Regions from separate parts of the Homo sapiens genome. Here regions 2 and 3 are each linked to region 1. Evidence: promoter capture Hi-C in 16 types of primary human blood cells and fetal thymus (Javierre and others, 2016). All regions are on one chromosome and are shown on one strand. The core of a region is centred on a gene start or on the middle of the fragment in contact, and the rest is flanking DNA. Distances in the headings are between cores, read along the strand shown. Region 1 holds the start of MDM1 (Mdm1 nuclear protein). Region 2 overlaps CPM (carboxypeptidase M). Region 3 has its middle 85 kb from the start of CAND1.

Region 1 (2,799 bases), core at 271-2,770:
GTAACAAAGCTGTGTGCACAACCAAAGTTGTGCCTTTCTTACTCTGTAAGATGGGCTGCCTTCCTGCAGATGACTTTTGTTCTATGTTCCACTGTGTCTTGTTTGTGCCATTCTTAATTTACACGACAGAGATGCTGTCATCACCAATTAACATTAATCAAGGGCCCCCTGGATGCATGGCTGCATTGGGACTAATTTAATATGCTCTTTGTTCCAGATATCAGGTGGCTTCTTCAAATGATTTTTAAGTATCTCGATGATGATGAAGAACAAAGACATCAATCAGGATTCAGGAAGACAGCTTTTGCGGAAAATGCTTAAAGGGAAGCATCAAGGATTGGTGTTGATATTTGAAAGTTTAAGAGTGGTATACTTTTATTCAGTCAACACATGACAAATGTAAAAGGCACTCATTTGTTGTTCCTGGAAGAAGCCTGGCAGCATTCCATTCAGACATCTGCCCTTTCATCGTCCCACTTTTTACTTATTGCAGTCCTTTCAGTCTGAATATTTCCTCCTGACGCATCTTCTGCCGTCCGAAATGACTCCCTGCTCCCAGATCCTGTAGCCCTTATTATTGACACCTTTCATTTAGAAATTTAGCACATGTCACATTACACCATTATTGAATAAATAATGAATAAATAAATAAATAAAGATGTATGTCCTTCCCAAGTATATCAGAGAACTATCTGGACAATTTCTTTCTTTCCCAATTCTCAGAATCAGCAGTATTCTGTCAAGAAACATTTATCGACGATGATGGCAATAGTCGATTAAAATCAGATGAAGTTTTATTTTTAAAAAAAGGTTGAGCGGAGAGACAAGGCTGAAGGTTTGGAAGTTGAGACAACCATCTTCAATAAACGTTTTCTCATCTAAGGGCTGTATGTACATCATTTTGGGGAAGGTAGAGATTGAAGGAGGAAGAACATCACTGGAGGAAGAGACAGCAGTTTGTCTTTCGAGTTTCAATAAAGTTTCAAAAATCTTGCCTAAGTTATATATTTTTTTGGCCTTTCCCTTTTGATGTGACAATAAACTGTAATGCGGCTGTCGTTTGTACGAACCGATATTCAGCAGAATAAATCTGAGCACTTTCAGAAAAAGAAGCGTTCGGTTTTCTCATAGATGTTAGCATGAAGAACACACTTTGACCTTTGATGCTGTCAAGCACCTGGGCCAGCGAGGCTGGCGGCTGGCGAATTCCACCAGCAAGCAGACGCATTGCTGCGCAGGACCCGGCGAACCAGGGACCGGTCCACCCAACCCAGGAAGGCACCCCCGGGGTCCCGCCCAGCCCGGTTCCGGGAGCCTTATTGGCCGGCCTTCCGCCCGCCATCTCTATCAGCCCCAGGGATTTGGCAAGGGAGGTAGGCGGCTCCCTTTCGGCCACTCATTGGTCAAATCCTAATGGAGGTAAGGCACTCTGCGAGTCTCTATTGGTCCCTAGGCTCCAAAAAGGGCGGGGAAAAACAGACCGACAGGCCTCTAGGCGGGAAGCGCGGAGTGCGCCGGCGCGTAGTCGGGGACGCCGGGCCGAGGCTTTGCTAGGGAACACTGTTATCGCCCCGCCCCCTCGGAGCTTTTTCTCCAGTTAACTGTCGGAGTAGCGGGGGCTCCGGCGCCGGGCGACATGCCGGTGCGCTTCAAGGTGAGGCTGGGGTCCCCGGGCCGGAATGTGGCTGGGGGGAGCCATGGCCGGGGAGGTGTGGAGCGCCGAGGTCACGCTGCTTTTCTGCGCTGCAGCCCTCTGCCCGGCGGAAGCTGCCAGCCCCAGGGCCTGCTCGAGGGGCCCCAGAATCTGCCCGCCGCCTCTTAACCTAGTTCCCTCTCCGCTCACTCACATTTGCAAGCTGCAGTGTGTCGAAGAGTCAGATGGTGCGAGACACATTTACTTAGGGGGACTCAAGAGGAGTGGAGATGGGAGGAGGTCCCTTTGCGAAGAGAACTAAAGGCGACTTCAGATTGGGACACCTGTGGCCCATTTAGCTTAGCATTTAACCCCCATTACCTTTAAAACTTTAGTGTATGTGGCTTTTAAAGGCTTGAGAAATGGGTTCTTAGTAAAGACAGCGTATAAAGAAATACACGTTTTTCATCGTTGTGCATTCTTAGCGTATGTTAAAAGTTCCAGGTAGCTGGTAGCTGTCAGGGACTAGCACCCTGCAACTTCACAGGTGGCCACAGCGTCCCACATCTCCTGACTCATTTATCTTAAAGGCGTGTATTCAGAATGGAAGGGGAGTTTGCCTTTTGTTGACTTTATCAAATAGCAAAAGGTCCTAGGCATGGTACATAATATTGTGTACTCGGTGAAAACCTGCGATAAATCTAGAATGATGAGAATTTAGATTGTCATTAGTTATCCGACAAGAACTCATGCTTTGGAATCAGATAATCAGTGAAAGGGTAACCTCTGAGCCTGGAATTCCTGGTAGCATCTGCCTCAAGTGGTGTTGTGGATTAAAGGATATAACACGTGTGAACTGCTTAGCACAGGGCTGGGTGAATATTAGCTCTTATTAAGGAGCTCGTCTGTGTTTAATTTTCAGTCTTAAGTCTCTTTTGGGAGGTTCAGAAATTATTTTTCACCGATGTCTGCTTTAAAACATCATTCATTAATTGGACTGTACTCAAAAGTGTACTTTGCATTACAGGGGCTGAGTGAATACCAGAGGAACTTCCTGTGGAAAAAGTCTTATTTGTCCGAGTCTTGTAATTCCTCCGTGGGGCGAAAGTACCCATGGGCTGGACTTAGATCAGATCAATTAGGTAAGTTGAGCAGGCTAATAGCCA
Region 2 (2,891 bases), core at 245-2,744, 520 kb before region 1:
AATTTAGTTATCTATCAGACTCAAAATCATTTAAAGACTAACAAAACACAATCATGATATTCTAACTGTGGTCAAACCAGGTACCCAAGCCACCTCCCTGCCCAACGCCTTTCCGGCTTTTCCCCTCCCTCTTGGGCTGGTGGTTATGCTCCTCCAGCTCTAGTTCAGCTATAATTCCTTTTATAGAGAAACCAACCTGATACACACTTTCATGATGGGAGAAAAATGTGGGAGTGAAATGGTATTTAGAAAGCAGCAGTCAGGCACGGTGGCTCATGCCTGTAATCCCAGCACTTTGGGAGGCTGAGGCAGGCGGATCACTTGAGGTCAGGAGCTCGAGACCAGCCTGGCCAACACGGTGAAACCCCATCTCTACTAAAAAAAAATACAAAAATTAGCCGGGCGTGGTGGCAGGCACCTGTAATCCCAGCTACTTGGGAGGCTGAGGCAGGAGAAATCGCCTGAACCCAGAAGGCAGAGGTTGCAGTGAGCCAAGATCACATCACTGCACTGCACTCCAGCCGGGGTGACAGAGCGAACCTCTGTCTCAAAAAAAAAAAAAGAAAAAAGAAAGAAAGAAAAAAGGCAGAAGCCCTGGATTCAAATCCGCCACACATTCAGTTTCTTTATCTGTAAAATGGAGACCACCCCCCGCCACGCTGAACGGTGATTCTGTGACTGGTAAGAGATGCTACATTTTTGGTGCTTGTTCAGGTGGAGGAAAGATGATAGTTAACACTCAGGTAATAAGTATTTTGAAGGCAGTATAATATACCTTCTTAAAGAGTATACCTACTCAAATGTTGGTAAATGTTGACATGATTGAATCTAAATGGCAAAGAGTATTTTAGAAAAACATTAAGTCCCTGCAGATAAATGACAGTGTTGATTTGGATGCTTAATTACATTCAGACATGAACTGTTGGATGTATCTGAAATGTTAAAAGCTTTTTCTCAACATTTCCAAAAGTCTTTCCAAGAAATCAATGTTATGTTTTGTTCCAGAAGCAAATTTGCATTTGTGATCTGTTTCTAAAAATGGTACAAGTTAGCTCTGTTTAGAAAGTAAAAATATCTGATGTTAGATTGGAAGTATCTCTTCCTGGGGAATCCAGAAAGATAAGCATAGCATATTGTCTTACTGCAATAGATAAGTTGCTTATTGAGAAGTCTGGTTGTTATTCTATATGGTAACAATACAGTTGATGTATATTTTATGATAGATCCTTTATATTTTCCTCATGACTTTAGAAGGGGGAAGGGGGAGAAAATTATGATGACCAGACTAGTTAAAGAGCATTGAAAGTCCACAGTACTGTAGCTAAAGTAGAAGTTTGGGTTTGTTATAGACTTTACATTATATCAACTAATAAGCAGATACTGTACAGTATTGCTCACCATTTTATCATACTTTTGCATATGAACTACTCCATTGCCTTTTATAGATGTTTTATAGCTGATCTTACCAGTTTTCCTGGTAACTTTTTTTATTTCTTTTTTTTTTTTTTGAGACGGAGTCTCGCCCTAACACCCAGGTTGGAGTGCAGTGCCGTGATCTCGGCTCACTGCAACCTCTGCCTCCCGGGTTCAAGCAATTCTCCTGTCTCAGCCTCCCGAGTACCTGGGACTACCGGTGCCTGTCTCCACGCCCGGCTAATTTTTTGTATTTGTAGTAGAGACGGGGTTTCACCGTGTTAGCCAGGATGGTCTCGATCTCCTGACCTCATGATCTGCCTGCCTCTGCCTGGACCTCCCAAAGTGCTGGGATTACAGGCGTGAGCCCCCGCGCCCAGCCACTTTCTTTAATACTATAACTAAGAATTTATTAAAATGCACAAATTGTCTAAGACTGTAAAGTTTATTGGGGAGAGGCCATGACTACCTCTGAATTTAGTAAATTTAAAATATTTCTGATTCTCAATAAAGAACTAATATCCATATAAATAATGCTTTTTTCCCATTATGTTACCTGAAAATAAGTACTTATGCAAGTATAACAAAGTCCACTAAAAATAACTGATTACCACCAAATAAAGCTTGGGAAAGACCAAACTTAATGACCTTTTATGAGGCAATAACATTGCAACAACTCTTCAAAGTCCAGATAGTTCTTCCAGAACAAGTTACATATGCTATATGTTATATATATTATATATAATACATTCCAAATTAATTTGTGTTGTGGGGCAGTGTGTTCCATGGACAAGATGATGGATGGAAAGTATGCCTTCTGGTCAGAAAAAATATTTGAAAATTCACAATTTATATTAATGTAATAAAGAATCTGAGAAATGCAGAAAAGAAATGGATTTCCCAAACATGCTAAGCTATGGGACCATTTCCTTAAATAATACAGCCTCGTACCATCCCTTTGGATTAACATACCTATATTTCCAAACACATTTTGGGAAATACTGATATATAGAGAAGGCTTTTGTTCTGAATAACAAATTTTATTGATTTCCAGGTGCTTTTGAAATACAGAGAACAGTGGTAAACAAAGAATTTGCCTCCAGTAGGAACTGGAAAACTAACAGTCCTAACCCCTGCTAATATCGACTTAGTCATAGGACAGAGGATGGGCTCAAGCTTACATCTGCTCTTTGAAACACGCTAAACAAATAATAGTTTAAATGAGACATTGCTGAGTAGGAAATGGCTAAATTACAGGTACCAATTTTTAAAAAGTGACGTCTCAATTTAGAAAATAAACAGGAAATAGTTTCTCTGTTTTCAAGAGAATTTCATTACATAGAAGCCTCTTAAGCAGAAGTTCCCTGGTATATTTACCTAGACTTCAACGTTTAAATTTGCAGCTTTTTTTTTTTTTTTTGGGACGAAGTCTCGCTCTGTCACCCAGGCTGGAGTGCAGTGGTGGGATCTCGGCTCAC
Region 3 (3,194 bases), core at 444-2,943, 980 kb after region 1:
GGAAGAAAAGACCAAGAACGCCAAAAAAAAAAAAAAAAAAAAAAAAGGGTGCTTAGTATTAAGGCTTCCAGTGAAGATAAATTTCTTCAATTCTCAAGAAAGGTAAAGACATTCTGCAGCCGCTGACAGTTCCATTTCAGATGAATTAGCATAATGTTGGGCAAACAGCAAACCTAAAAGGCAAATGTTCAAGACTCTAGCGTCAGTTATTTGCCAGCAAAAGATAACATCAAACATATGAGTAATGAGCCTTTAAAGTTGCCAGTCCCCAGGGAAGATTTGAGTTCTCATTAGTAAAGAGATATGAGATCCCATTTTGCCAGAGTCAATAGCACCGCATGAACACAGAGAGATACTAGAAGAATAATTTCCACACTTGGCTCTGAAAATAATCATCCTTATCTTTGCATTTTAAGTCTCAGAATTTGGCAAAAGAGTTCTAAGGATTTTAAAACATTAATAACAAGACTAAGAATGTTCCCAGATGAACTCTTATTTCTCAGACTATCTTGTTGGAGTTATTTACACATATGGCACAAACAAAGCCAAATGAATTGGAATATTTGACTTTCTCTCCACAAGATCTTACCAGTCTTTGTTTCTCAAGGTTTAGTTTGCATAAGGACAAAGGAATACAGTCGAATACTTAAAAGTATTATTTTAAAACACACTTTTATCTTGATAGTTATGTCTTTTCCATCAATATCTCTATTCACTATGTGAAAAAAAAAAGTCATACAACTTCAGAGTAGAAAGCATTTCAGTCCAACCACTTCACAGTCGCAAATCACAAGCTATTCACCCAGGAGGAAGAGCTGCTAAAGTCAATTCCCACTAAATTTCACCAGGGGCAGTTTAAACCTTCTGTTCTGTCTAGACATTTTGCCCTCCTCTGCCCAAACATCCTGACTTTTAAGGAGTTTTACAGCTTAGTCAACTCACCAACATCCTGAAGTAGGCTGAGATTGCAGATTTCTTTTCTGAATACCAATTATGCTTATTTATAAAACACAGAACATGGAGCAGAGAATTTAAGATTTTAGAGCTGCAAGTCACCTTCCTTTTATAATCCACAAAAGTGATTTGCTGTGATACCTGATGGCCTCTTTTGGAAAACAGAAGGCTTGAACACAGCATTGAAATGTGTCAGACTTTCTTTTTAAAATTTTTTCAGCTTCTTTTGAGGGTATATCCTGTAAAGCACTATGAGAAACATCCGAAAGACACAATTCTTATCCCCCAAAAGCCAATTATGTTGTCTGACTTCGGTTTCCTAAGCTACCCACAAACTGAAAGGCAAGGTATGGTGGTCAAAGAGTAAAGTCGACGTCTACACAGAAGCTTCCCTCTTTCCCTCAGCTCTGCCTCTTTCCAGTGCTGCTCATGTGATATGATACTTAGTCAAGCTTACTTTTTAAGTCAGCCACTTCGTGGGAACACTTTCCGGAGTGATGGCCAGCAGAATAGCTAAACTTTGTTACTGCCAAACCTCTTCTTGAGACAGGAACTCTGCCTACACAAAGCAAAAACAATATTTCAGCATCCCACCCTCCCTTTGAACCCACATTTGGAGTCATAGTTTCAGTTTTCATAACTATCCGGAAAACTGAAATGCTTCACTGGCCCACAACCAAACTCTTGGGCTCTTTTCAAGTCTGCCATCTCCCCCTTTTCATTCCACTTCCTCCCTCACTGTGAAACCTTGCTTGCTTGGACACTCCTGTAGTTTTAGACACCTTCCTGTCGATCTTTGAGCTATTTACCAGCTGAACATTTGTATTGTTAGTGTTAAATGATAAATTCATATAGCTAAGACACTTGACCAAGATAGACCGATACTATCATTTGAGCAACTGTCTCCTGCAATCTGTCATCACAATGAGATAGCCATGTTCTAACCTATCAGTAAGATTATACAAAAGTAAACAGAGTTGTCGGTATAAAATTGATTGTCAGCCGGGCACAGTGGCTCAAGCTTGTAATCCCAGCACTTTGGGAGGCCGAGGTGGGTGGATCACAAGGTCAGAAGTTTGAGACCAGCCTGGCCAAGACAGTGAAATGCCGCCTCTTCTAAAGATACAAAAATTAGCTGGGCATGGTGGCAGGTGCCTGTAATTCCAGCTACTTGGGAAGCTGAGGCAGGAGAATCTCTTGAACCTGGGAGGTGGAGGTTGCAGTGAGCCAAGATCGCGCCACTGCACTCCACAGAGCTAGACTCCATCTTGAAAAAAAAAAAATGCCACTGAGAGGTCATCTTTTATGAAATTCAAAAGTTTCAGAAATGTATCTAAATTGTCACCAATCCTTTCCCTGTAGTGTTCACCAGCCTCTGATCAGTTGATTTTAGGCAAATTTCTCACCTTCCACACTTGCAACACAAACTCAACTTCCAGCATACAGAGCTACTTGAAGGTTTCCCTAAATACACTAGGCACCCTCAGTCACTACACTACATATATGCTCTTGCTTTTTTGCCCAATGCCTGCCTTTTGACAGTCTGAGTAATGCCTACTTGTTTTCAAACTTCAGCTCAGGAGCTGCCTTCGCTTGTCTCATCCAAGCAGTCTGCAGCCCCTTGCTTTTATGCTCCTACAAGACCCTATTTATAACTCCATCACAGTGCCCATCATATGCTGGTAAAATGGTTTGTTTTCCCCTCTCACCTGCCATAGGTTCATTCTGAAAAAAGATTAAGAGTTTGACTCTGCAACCCCAGCACCCCAGGCTGTATCTAACACGTGGTAGGCAAACTGCAAATGTTTGCCAGATGGATGACCATTCCTGATGGCCAAGACATTAAGAAAGGGGCTGTTTTCCAGTGGTCCATAGCACTATGGACAGCTAAGATGACTGCCTCACCAGTTCAGAAGAAGAATAAGACATGCTCTCACTTACTTTCCTCCCTCCCCTTGTAACATGTATCTGGCGTTCTAGACAGCCCCATTTCCCCATCAGCCAAAGTTTTGGACCTATCAAGAATAAATCTTTAATTGAAGTCTATTAGTCTGTTCTCACACTGCTATACCTGATACTGGGTAATTTATGAAGAAAAGAGGTTTAATTGACTCACAGTTCCACAGGCTATACAGGAAGCATGAGGCTAGAAGGCCTCAGGAAACTTACAATCACGGCAGATGACTAAGGGAAAGCAAGCACATCTTACCATGATGAATCAGGAAAGAAAAAGAAGAGGG

The links. The method cuts DNA at HindIII sites, captures the fragments that hold promoters and counts their contacts. A CHiCAGO score of 5 or more calls a contact.
Region 2: a fragment that was not itself captured here is called in contact with the fragment with the promoter of MDM1 in region 1 in 1 of 17 cell types (megakaryocytes); the score reaches 5.4 in megakaryocytes.
Region 3: a contact is called between a fragment that was not itself captured here and the fragment with the promoter of MDM1 in region 1, in 3 of 17 cell types (total CD4 T cells, naive B cells and total B cells). The highest score is 5.5, in total CD4 T cells.

The regions. Positions count from the first base shown.
Region 1 is chr12:68,331,083-68,333,881 of GRCh38, reverse strand. It overlaps MDM1 (Mdm1 nuclear protein), which reads left to right and starts at 1,520. Exons shown (of 15, transcript NM_001354969.2): 1 at 1,520-1,654; 2 at 2,661-2,775. The coding sequence starts at 1,637. It overlaps LOC105369819 (a long non-coding RNA gene), which reads right to left and starts at 1,251. Exons shown (of 3, transcript XR_945057.3): 1 at 1-1,251. RefSeq lists a silencer at 1,320-1,579 and an enhancer at 1,880-1,969. The HindIII fragment of the contact is 10,890 bases long and covers 1-2,799 here.
Region 2 is chr12:68,850,228-68,853,118 of GRCh38, reverse strand. It overlaps CPM (carboxypeptidase M), which reads left to right. Exons shown (of 9, transcript NM_198320.5): 9 at 1-1,944. It also overlaps a transcript of MDM2 not described here. Among named protein-coding and RNA genes, the nearest start is that of MDM2, 43 kb to the right of the region's middle. The HindIII fragment of the contact is 1,089 bases long and covers 950-2,038 here.
Region 3 is chr12:67,352,829-67,356,022 of GRCh38, reverse strand. No RefSeq gene overlaps it. Among named protein-coding and RNA genes, the nearest start is that of CAND1, 85 kb to the right of the region's middle. The HindIII fragment of the contact is 569 bases long and covers 1,409-1,977 here.